2 separate regions of the Homo sapiens genome follow, and region 2 is linked to region 1. Evidence: promoter capture Hi-C in 16 types of primary human blood cells and fetal thymus (Javierre and others, 2016). All regions are on one chromosome and are shown on one strand. Each heading gives the region's core, a stretch centred on a gene start or on the middle of the fragment in contact. The rest is flanking DNA. Distances are from core to core; before and after follow the strand shown.

The links. Contacts are between HindIII fragments. The CHiCAGO score rates a contact against its expected background, and 5 or more counts as called.
Region 2: a fragment that was not itself captured here is called in contact with the fragment with the promoter of IL22RA1 in region 1 in 13 of 17 cell types (M0 macrophages, naive B cells, total B cells and 10 more); the score reaches 11.3 in M0 macrophages.

The regions. Positions count from the first base shown.
Region 1 is chr1:24,141,509-24,146,114 of GRCh38, forward strand. It overlaps IL22RA1 (interleukin 22 receptor subunit alpha 1), which reads right to left and starts at 1,632. Exons shown (of 7, transcript NM_021258.4): 1 at 1,532-1,632. The coding sequence starts at 1,574. The HindIII fragment of the contact is 5,016 bases long and covers 1,099-4,606 here.
Region 2 is chr1:24,377,744-24,382,237 of GRCh38, forward strand. It overlaps STPG1 (sperm tail PG-rich repeat containing 1), which reads right to left. Exons shown (of 9, transcript NM_001199013.2): 5 at 1,910-2,080. Among named protein-coding and RNA genes, the nearest start is that of STPG1, 34 kb to the right of the region's middle. The HindIII fragment of the contact is 1,067 bases long and covers 890-1,956 here.

The DNA.
Region 1 (4,606 bases), core at 382-2,881:
AGGTGGGGGCATGTTGCCAAGGCAAAGGACCCTGGGCTACGTGGAGGTTGGCACCACTTTTCAGGAGGGAACTGCAGTTAGCTTCCTGAAGTGGGGTAAGTGAACCTAGGCCCACTCCTGTCTTTTAGGGATGTCAGGGTCTAACAAGATCTCCCCCTCTTCTCCCACCCTCCTCGCTCCTTTTCCTCCTCAAATCTATCATCCATTCCTCAGCCTGTGTTGCTTCGGCACTTCCCGGGTGAAAGTCTATATTGTGAAATCTGGGGAGACATGTGTTGTGTGGAGCCTGGCAGCCTGGCGGATTTATAAAAGGCAACTTGTTTTTTCACATTCATGTGGAAAAACAATGTTCTGTCAACCAGCTGGGAAGCTAAGGAAAAATACACAAACAAGAAACAATTCCACATGCTCTGGAGTCAGCCTAAGATTGGGGGGGTGAGGGCCCGGTGTGTGCAGCGCGAGGCAGCTGACCCTTGACAATCTCCTAAGGGCTATTTCTTGGGGTCCCCCATCTCAAAGGGCTGGGAGCCTCTAGGATTTCTAACCAGTATGGCTGAGGGTCTAAAGGGACGTGTCTTGGTGCCTCAAGGGGGTGCCTCACATCTTCCTGGAACGCCCAGCTTGATGCTGGGAAGCAGACTGGAGGGGGTCCCACAGAGCTGGAAGCCCTGGAGACGCAGGCAGCCCTGGCGGGACAGTGGCAGAGAAGGTGGGAAGCTCTGCCTTTTCGTGGGCCTCGTCCTGCACTTGAGCAAGGAGGGCCTGGCCGAGGCCATACCTGCTCGCCATCCTCAATCAGGACTATGCTTTGACTTCCTAAGGAAGTTCCCTGAATTTCATGCAATGCACCAGGAGAGCAGAGAGAGAGTCTAGGGTCTCATGTAACGTTCTCCATAATGATGAGCCCCCCACTCCGCTCACTTTATTGGCTTTGAACACTATGCCCTTAAGACCTGTTTCCAAATGAGTCCTGTGTCTTAAGACCTATTAATGTAGCAGACCTGGCCACTCTAGGAGAAAATGCTCTTTCAGATCTATGATAACAAAAGGGGCCAAAGAGGCCCTGCAGGGGCATGGAGGGAGGCAATAGTGAACTCAAGCTTCGTTTCCCCCGGTCCTTCCTCCTCCTCCCCTGTCAGGCCAGTGCCAAGTGAGAGGCAGAGGAAGGATGGTACAAACTGTGCCGACACCGTTTGAGGGACCGAAGGATGTCTGCCTCCTCCAGGCCAATTCTCCATTCACTGAGGTGCAGCGATCCAGCACCCCCAGTTCAGACAGCTGGCTATATCCCTCAAGACCCGAGGGTCCTTTGGGTCCCTGGAAGAACCCAGGGTCTGAGGCACCCTCTCATGCCCCCAGCAAACTAAGCTGGGCATTTGCTTCTCCGTGAACACCCGGCACCCTGCTCAGCCCTAGCAGGGGAGAAACTGAAACTGGCTATGCTCGGGCTGGGGAGGGTGCTGGGGAGATGACCCTGATCGTTGGCCCCTGGGATAAGGGAGGTCTGACCACAGGGTAGATGGGCACTCACCAGCCAGGGATCCCACAGTCAAGATGGTCAGCAGCGTCCTCATCGGGGCTGGCACAGAGCCCTCCCTTGGCCTCTACTCTGCCGTGCACAGAGAGAGGGCTGGGAGTCTTGGCGCCCTGGCAGCTGGCTCCACCCGGGCATGGGGCGGGGAGAAGGGGGTGGGTGGGACCTGTGCCGGTGGGGAGCAGGGGTACAAAGGTGTCCTGGCCCTGTGTGCTCTGGAATTCCAGGTTCTGGGCGGGATCTAAGGGAGTTCCCTTCCGACTTGCAGAAAACAGCAATAGTAACAGGCTGGCTTGTTTATCTGGTCCGGTGGCTGATTCATCCCAAGTGGTTTATCAAGGAGCTGAGGGGCAGAAAAGGCAAGAATAATCCACGATATGCAGCCTTATCAAAAAGCAATTTGGCACTGTGGATCAAAAGCCTACACCACATACATATCTTTTGCTTTAATAATTCTATTCCTAGGGGATTTACCCTGATGAAAATAACTGGACAACAGAGGGGGAAAAAAAAGGTCCCAGAATGTTTCTTGCAGCAAAGGAAAAGCTGTGACTCCTTTGCTTTTCTGGCAGGAGGAGATTGAGGGCACCCGATGCTCCTCCTTGATCCTCCATATCAAGGCAGGTCCCCACGCTTGGGGTGGGCTTGGGAACAGCTCTCCCCTAGAGAGGCCGTTGGGGGTGAGGAAGCCCAGCCGCTCTTACCTTGAGCCTTTGGGTCTAGGATCTGCAAAAGTTTAGAAAAAAAATGGAACTCAAACTTCAGTGATTCTTTCTGCTGTGCTAGAGATGGGGCTGAACTTCATGAATGGGGCTTTGGTTCGGGACGATGAAGATTCAGGCTGCTCTCCCATCATTTTGCCACGTAGGGCAGGATCTGCACATGAGCTTCGTGTGAATGAAGGGACAGGTGTTTAGGAAATGGTTTTCTCCTTCCTGCAGGGCCTGGAGAAGGTAGAAGGGCCCTGGGGCCTGGACTCTGGTCAGGGTGGACACGATTGGAGGGTCCTGCCCCTGGGGAGAGTTTGCCTGGCCCCAAGCACACAAAGGCAAGCGAAATTTTAGCAGGGATCCTGCCAACGGGTTGGGTGTAATGGGCTGTGATATGCTGAGATCGGTGTTTAAGTTTTTCTTTCCTGAATTGTAATTGTTATCAGCCCTGATTGCTAAAGTTTGTTTGACAAAACAGCCAAATCTAAGCTGTGCTTTGGAGGAATTAAGGTAGGGCCCATGCCAGTCATTTCCTGAAACTGCAGGAAACTACATTTTCTAGACTCCTTTATCAACTGCTTTCTGATAGGTTTAGCCCCTGGGGGAAGACTGGGGAGGCAGAGATCAGAGCATTTCTCCCCTCGTTTTCTGTTTGAGTGGCTTCCCCAGCAATGGCCATATCCCTCTGCAGTTCTGGCTCCCTCTGGACAGTCCATCAGCCAGGCAACCCCTTATGTCTTTCTTGTTCCTGTTTGGAGGCCAGCTCCTGGCTCTGGCAACACCTTCTCCCCTCATCTTTCCTTTCAGTTGGTGGGATGGCACAGCTTCCTGCTTTGGGGAAATCTCTGAACTGTCTGTCCTGATTAGTGTCCCAGCTCCTTCATCCTCTGGGTGACGAGCTCCTTTACATTAAAGTCCCTTGGTCTGAAAGACTGGAGAGGTTTCTGTGCTACTGAATGAACCATGATGGATAGAGGGTTTTTGATGACTTTGATGACAAGGCAGTGTGGGGAAGCTACAGCGAGAAAAACAGGTTACAAGGGACGCTTAGGGAGAAGAGCAGGCTTTGGTCCCAAGTGGCTGGCCGAGAGGACAAGACGCAGCCCCAACAGGTCTGTGGAACACGAAAGTGTTCCTTGGGGCCTCTCAGAAGCACTGGAAGAAGGAACTTGATGGAGGAAAAGGGCATCCTGTAGTTTCGAGGGCCTGTGGTTATGTAGGAATTAACGGGAAGGAAGACACCTGGATTGCTAAGGAATGTGGGAACACCCAGACTTCATTTCTAACAGTTTAAGAAAAAAATAGGTGGGGCGTGGTGGCTCATGCCTGTAATCTCGCACTTTGGGAGGCCAAGGTGGGCAGATCACCTGAGATCAGGAGTTCGAGACCAGCCTGGGCAGCATGGCGAAACCCTGTCTCTACTAAAAATACAAAAATTAGCCGGACATGGTGGCGGGCACCTGTAATCCCAGCTGCTCGGGAGGCTGAAGCAGGAGAATTGCTTGAGCCCAGGATGTGGAAGTTGCAGTGAACCGAGACCGCACCATTGCACTCCTGCCTGGGCGACAGAGCGAGACTCCGTCTCAAAAAAAAAAAAAAAAAAAAAAAAAAGGAGAAAAAAATGAAAACAACCTCCATGTCTGACAATAGAGGTTTGGTTAAAAGAATAATGGTATGTCCACCCAAAGCAAGACAAATGCAGCTTCCAAAATAATGCTGGAGAAAAATGTTTCGTGACCTGGTAAAGACTCATCATATTTTTTCAAGTGAAAAGAGGCATAACATAACCTATGTACAGTACCACCCTGGCTAAAACGCACACCTGCACACGCAGAGCAAACTGCGTGTCTTCATGGATATAGATGAAAACACTAGGGGCGTTATCTCTGGGTGGTAGTGGAATTGTAGGTGATTTTTCTTTTCTTCCCTTTGCTTATCTGCATTTCCTAAAGTTAATATAGGAAATACACTAATTTATATTAAGGGAAAGCAAGGTTACTAAACATAACAAATCGGCATTAAAGACAAGCCTTTGTTGGGGCTCTATCCTCCTCCTGGAATGCCATTTCCACTCCCTTAGCCAATTCCCTTTTCCTCGAATCTCACCAAGACAGTTTTCTTCTGCGATATGGCCCTTCTTGATAACTCCAGCCCATAACATCTCACTTTGAAAGTCCTTCCAGAGGCCAGGCACCGTGGCTCATGCCTGTAATCCCGGCATTTTGGAAGGCCAAGGAGGGAGTATCGCTTGAGTCCAGGAGTTTAAAGCCAGCCTGGGCAACATAGTGAGACACTGTCTCTATAAATAATAAAAAATTAGCCAGGTGTGGTGGCACATGCCTGTAGTCCCAGCTACTTGGGA
Region 2 (4,494 bases), core at 173-2,672, 240 kb after region 1:
CCACAGAGGGAAGCCTGTCAGGGCTGGAATGAGGTGACTTTGATCATTCCCCAGCTTTCCACCCCAGCCATCCACTGGTGCCCACTGAAGTGCAAATGATGCCTTCAAGCTGGGTAACTGTGCAAGTCCCTTCACCTCTCTGAGCCTTAGCTTTCTCTTCTTTATACTGGGAACAAGATAATCCACTTTATGGATTCACTTGTGAGTATTAAATATGATTAATACATAACTCTTAGACCAGCACTTAGTACATGAGAAGTGCTTCATCCTCCTCCTCCTCCTCCTCATCATTTTCAGGCTCTGATTATGCCGAGGGAAGACTGCCTGGAGTTGGACTGCCCAGTATAGTAGCCACAGGTTGCATGTGGCTATTGGCCCTGGAAACGTGGCTGGCCCAAATTAAAATGTGCTGGAAGAATAAAACACATACTGGATTTTAAAGACTCACTACAAGGAAAATAGTCTTCCTCAAATATAAAATTCATAACTTTTATATTGATTAGTGTTGAAATGATAATATTTTGGATCTGTTGGGTAAACTATATTACTCAAATTAACTTCATCTGTCCCTTTTTCTTTTTAGATGTGGCTACTAGAAAATCTTAAATGAGGCCGGGCACGGTGGCTCCCGCCTGTAATCCCAGCACTTTGGGAGGCCGAGGCAGGTGGATCACGAGATCAGGAGATTGAGACCATCCTGGCTAACCCAGTGAAACCCCATCTCTACTAAAAATACAAAAAATTAGCCGGGTGTGGTGGCGGGTGCCTGTAGTCCCAGCAACTTGGGAGGCTGAGGCAGGAGAATGGTGTGAACCCAGGAGGTGGAGCCTGCAGATTGCACCACTGCTCTCCAGCCTGGGCAACAGAGCAAGACTCCGTCTCAAAAAAAAGCTTGAATCCATCATAGAAGGTGGGCAGGATTTTTGTAGTCAGAAAAATAATTATTAATTATCAATATTATGAAGGAAAAAAGGAAATGGTATAATAAATGTATAAAACCAAAATAGTTTGGAAAATGGCATAACATTAATGTCTTAAGTACAATTCATATCTTGCGCACTTCAGAGTGCTTTCACGTTCGTTGCCTTATGGTAACCCTGTAGGGCAAGTAGAATTGATTCCATTGTACAGTGGGGGCTGTGACTTACTTACTTGCTTGTATTTAAGGGTAAGTAAATACCCTTCATGTACTAACAAAGACAGCCCTACCAATCTCCATGTATTGTGTGGTCCTTGTGTGACTGGTGCTGTCCTGGGCATGAAGCATACATTATCTCATTTAATATTTGCATTAACACGATGAGGTGAACATACATCACCATTTTACAGATCAGTAAACTAAGCCCTGGAAAGGTTAAGGGACTTGCCGAAGGCCGCACAGTTAGAAAGTGGCAACAGATGAGAGCTAAACCAAACCTTCCTGAGTCCATCTCTTAACCATCCATGCCATTCTGCGTCAGTGAATACAAAGCGATCATAATTGGCACAGCAGGGCACGACTGTTAAAACACCTATTTTCTGATATGAAAGTTTATTTTCCCTAGAAGAACCTAAAAAGTAAATCATTAGTGGCTGCAGACAAAGTGGTAAATAATACACCCATTGTTACAGATGAGAAAACTACGTCCCAGAAAGGTTACAGGACAAGAGTAATTAGAATATGTGTTTCTCAGGGCAGTGGCCTCCCCACAGCTTGATACTGGCCTCCATGTTGCCCATCCTGATCTCTGGGGTCTGCAAATTCCCTGTAAGAGTCTTGTACAGCCTTAGGCACCCATTGGGTAGTCAACAAATGCTAACTGGCTTGACAACTGCATTAAAATACGATGTCCCCAAGATCCCCTCTTCCTTTTATTTTAGTAAACCATTAATTCGATCTGTATTTAGCAAGCATAGGCAGAGTTCTTACATTGTAATAGTTTGGTGCAGGAGTTTCAAACTTGAGAGCTTTCATAAAGCTTGGCAACTGGAACATGCTGGAACACGAATTACTAAAGTCTCTCTTGGAAATAAAATCCGATGGGATAGTGTATGCATTCGCTGCAGGGTATTTAGAAATGATGGTGTCCAATCGGGCGCACTGTAAGGAGACAACCAAAGGAATCAGCATTGTCACATAATATTGTGGATCTGAAGGACAGATGTCAAAAAGATGGTGACCAGCACAAGGTCTAAATGCATTTTATAAAAGGCGAAACTCTGGCAGTAACAATGATAAACTGACCTCAGGCTTTGAGGATCTTCCCTTGGAAAACGCAAGTTCAGACCTGTACTCGCTTCTGTAAACTAACTCAAATTATTCATCTTCTGTTTGGGACTTGGCAAAAATGATTTTGCCATAAATGCATTTCCACCCAATCCTGTTCCAGGCCACTTACCCTTGACTCATCAGCTGTTGGGTAATTTATGTGATAGGAAGCTTTAGATGCTCTTCTCAGCCTAGGCTTTTCTTCTGAGTAAAATCTCACATCTTGTTTCTAAGGTTAAATGATCTGAACTGCCTAAGCAACGAGTTTGCTTCAAACAAAGCTCCAGGGGGCTTGTTGTCCATCTGTGCCTCCTACCCTCCACCAAATTACTGTTTTCATCAAATCCTACAGTATTTTCACGGTTTAACAGAACCAATCCCACCCTTTCAGGAAGCCACGATAAATTATCTTCAGTTAAAAAACAAACAGAATCAATGTTTGTCAAAAGAACAGGGACAAAAGTCACAGAAACTCAGTGATAACATCACTTTCCCCTAAGATAGCATGGCAAGTATTGGAGTCTGATAAAACAAAAAATTTCCCACTATTTAATGGTCAAAAGCTTGAGAACATTGCCCTGGATTTTCTCACTTGATAGGAATCAATAACTACACAAACACAGAAAGTGGGTGAGCCAAAAGGAAGGCATTAGGGCCCCCCTACTTCACTCTGTGCTTGGTGGTGACGGTCCTCAGCGTCTGGTTTATGGACCCCCACTAGCATTTGGGGGGGTGTAGCACCAGAAGCGGGAGTGTTCTTGTCCAGAGCCTAAGTTGTTCAGAGCCTAACCTGGGTTCAAGCCCCAGCTCAACCCCAGCCTCTTCAGTAATGGGAAGTTAACTCCAACGCTGATCTGTTCCTTGAGTATCCAACTCTGCCAAACTCGAATTCTAATAAGAAGTGGCTACATGCAGTGTGTAAGGATTTGCTGATGCTCCTAGAAGTAAGGTCACCCCAGCTTTGAACGTGCTTCATCTTTTTCATTCTGGCCAAGAGTTAACCAATACCTTTGGTGGGTTTTTGTGTTGAATCCTCAGGACAACCCTGAGCAGTGGATCTTATGATTATCTCTACTTTACAGATGAGGAAGCTGAACTTCCCCAGCTAATTCAGGCGGAGGACCAGCATTCCTACCCAAGCAGTCAGCCTCCACTACATGACATGGATCAGAGAGCCCATTCTAAAGGGGAAAGGGTTGAGCGACATGGCTCTGGGATAACAGCAAGCCCATTCAATCATAGACTCTTTTTTGGTTTAGAACACCTACAACTTACATTTTGAAAATGAAAAAACTTCTTCCCAAAAAAGTCCCAGTAGAGGCAATGTTTTATAAAGTATCGTAATAGAATTAGTCTCAGAATGTGGCTACAGTAACACTCACTCACCAACACTACACACCCCTTGGTTTACTTGCCAGGCCTGTGGCCTCCAATCTGGCCAAATGCCGGCATTTATGAACTTCTCTCCAGCACCTACTAACTTTTCTAGAGCCACTCCTGCCAGCATGCAAATACAGAGAGGCCATCAAACTCTCCACCCACCTGCCTCATACACTTCTCCTAGTCAGTCCTGTGGAAGATTCTGGAGCAAAGATTTGGAATATACTAATAAAGCTCTTTATATCATTCAGACTTAGAGAGATGACAGGTCTCTCAAAAGGTTGGGTGTAGTTGTTTCAACAGTCATGAGGAAGTTTCTAAAATTTATAGACCCACAGAGTTTTTTGGTCAGCCTCACCCATAATCACATTCCTACTGGTCATTCTGATCTTTCTCTGATGAGAGCTACTTTTAATTCCCTCTAAGTCTTGGGATGCAGAAGCGGAGGAGGTGCTAAAGGTGAAAGTTACTGAAAGAGGCGGTGGGGTGGGGGATATGAAATTCTCATCCAGTTCACACGGGAATGAGGTAAAACGCAGAGATCTCCTAATAGATCGCCATCGACCACTTCAGGCACCCATCCCCAGGTACAGGACCTTAAGTGCTTATACCTGAGTGTAACATAACTATAAATACAAATTCCCATATTTGTGAAAGGGAGGAGAGGGGGAAGCCTGAGCAGCTCAAAGTCTGCCTTCTTTAGGGTTTGGTTCTGAATTTTTTAAAGGCCTGAAAGGCGTGGCTAGGTTCTGTAACACTCAGCTCTTGCCTTGGGCCCCTTCTCCTCCAGATAGTCAGGCTTTTCATTTGGAAAGTTACCGCACGCAAAGCCTTGTAGACAACCAATCGTGTCCTCTGATTCAGTC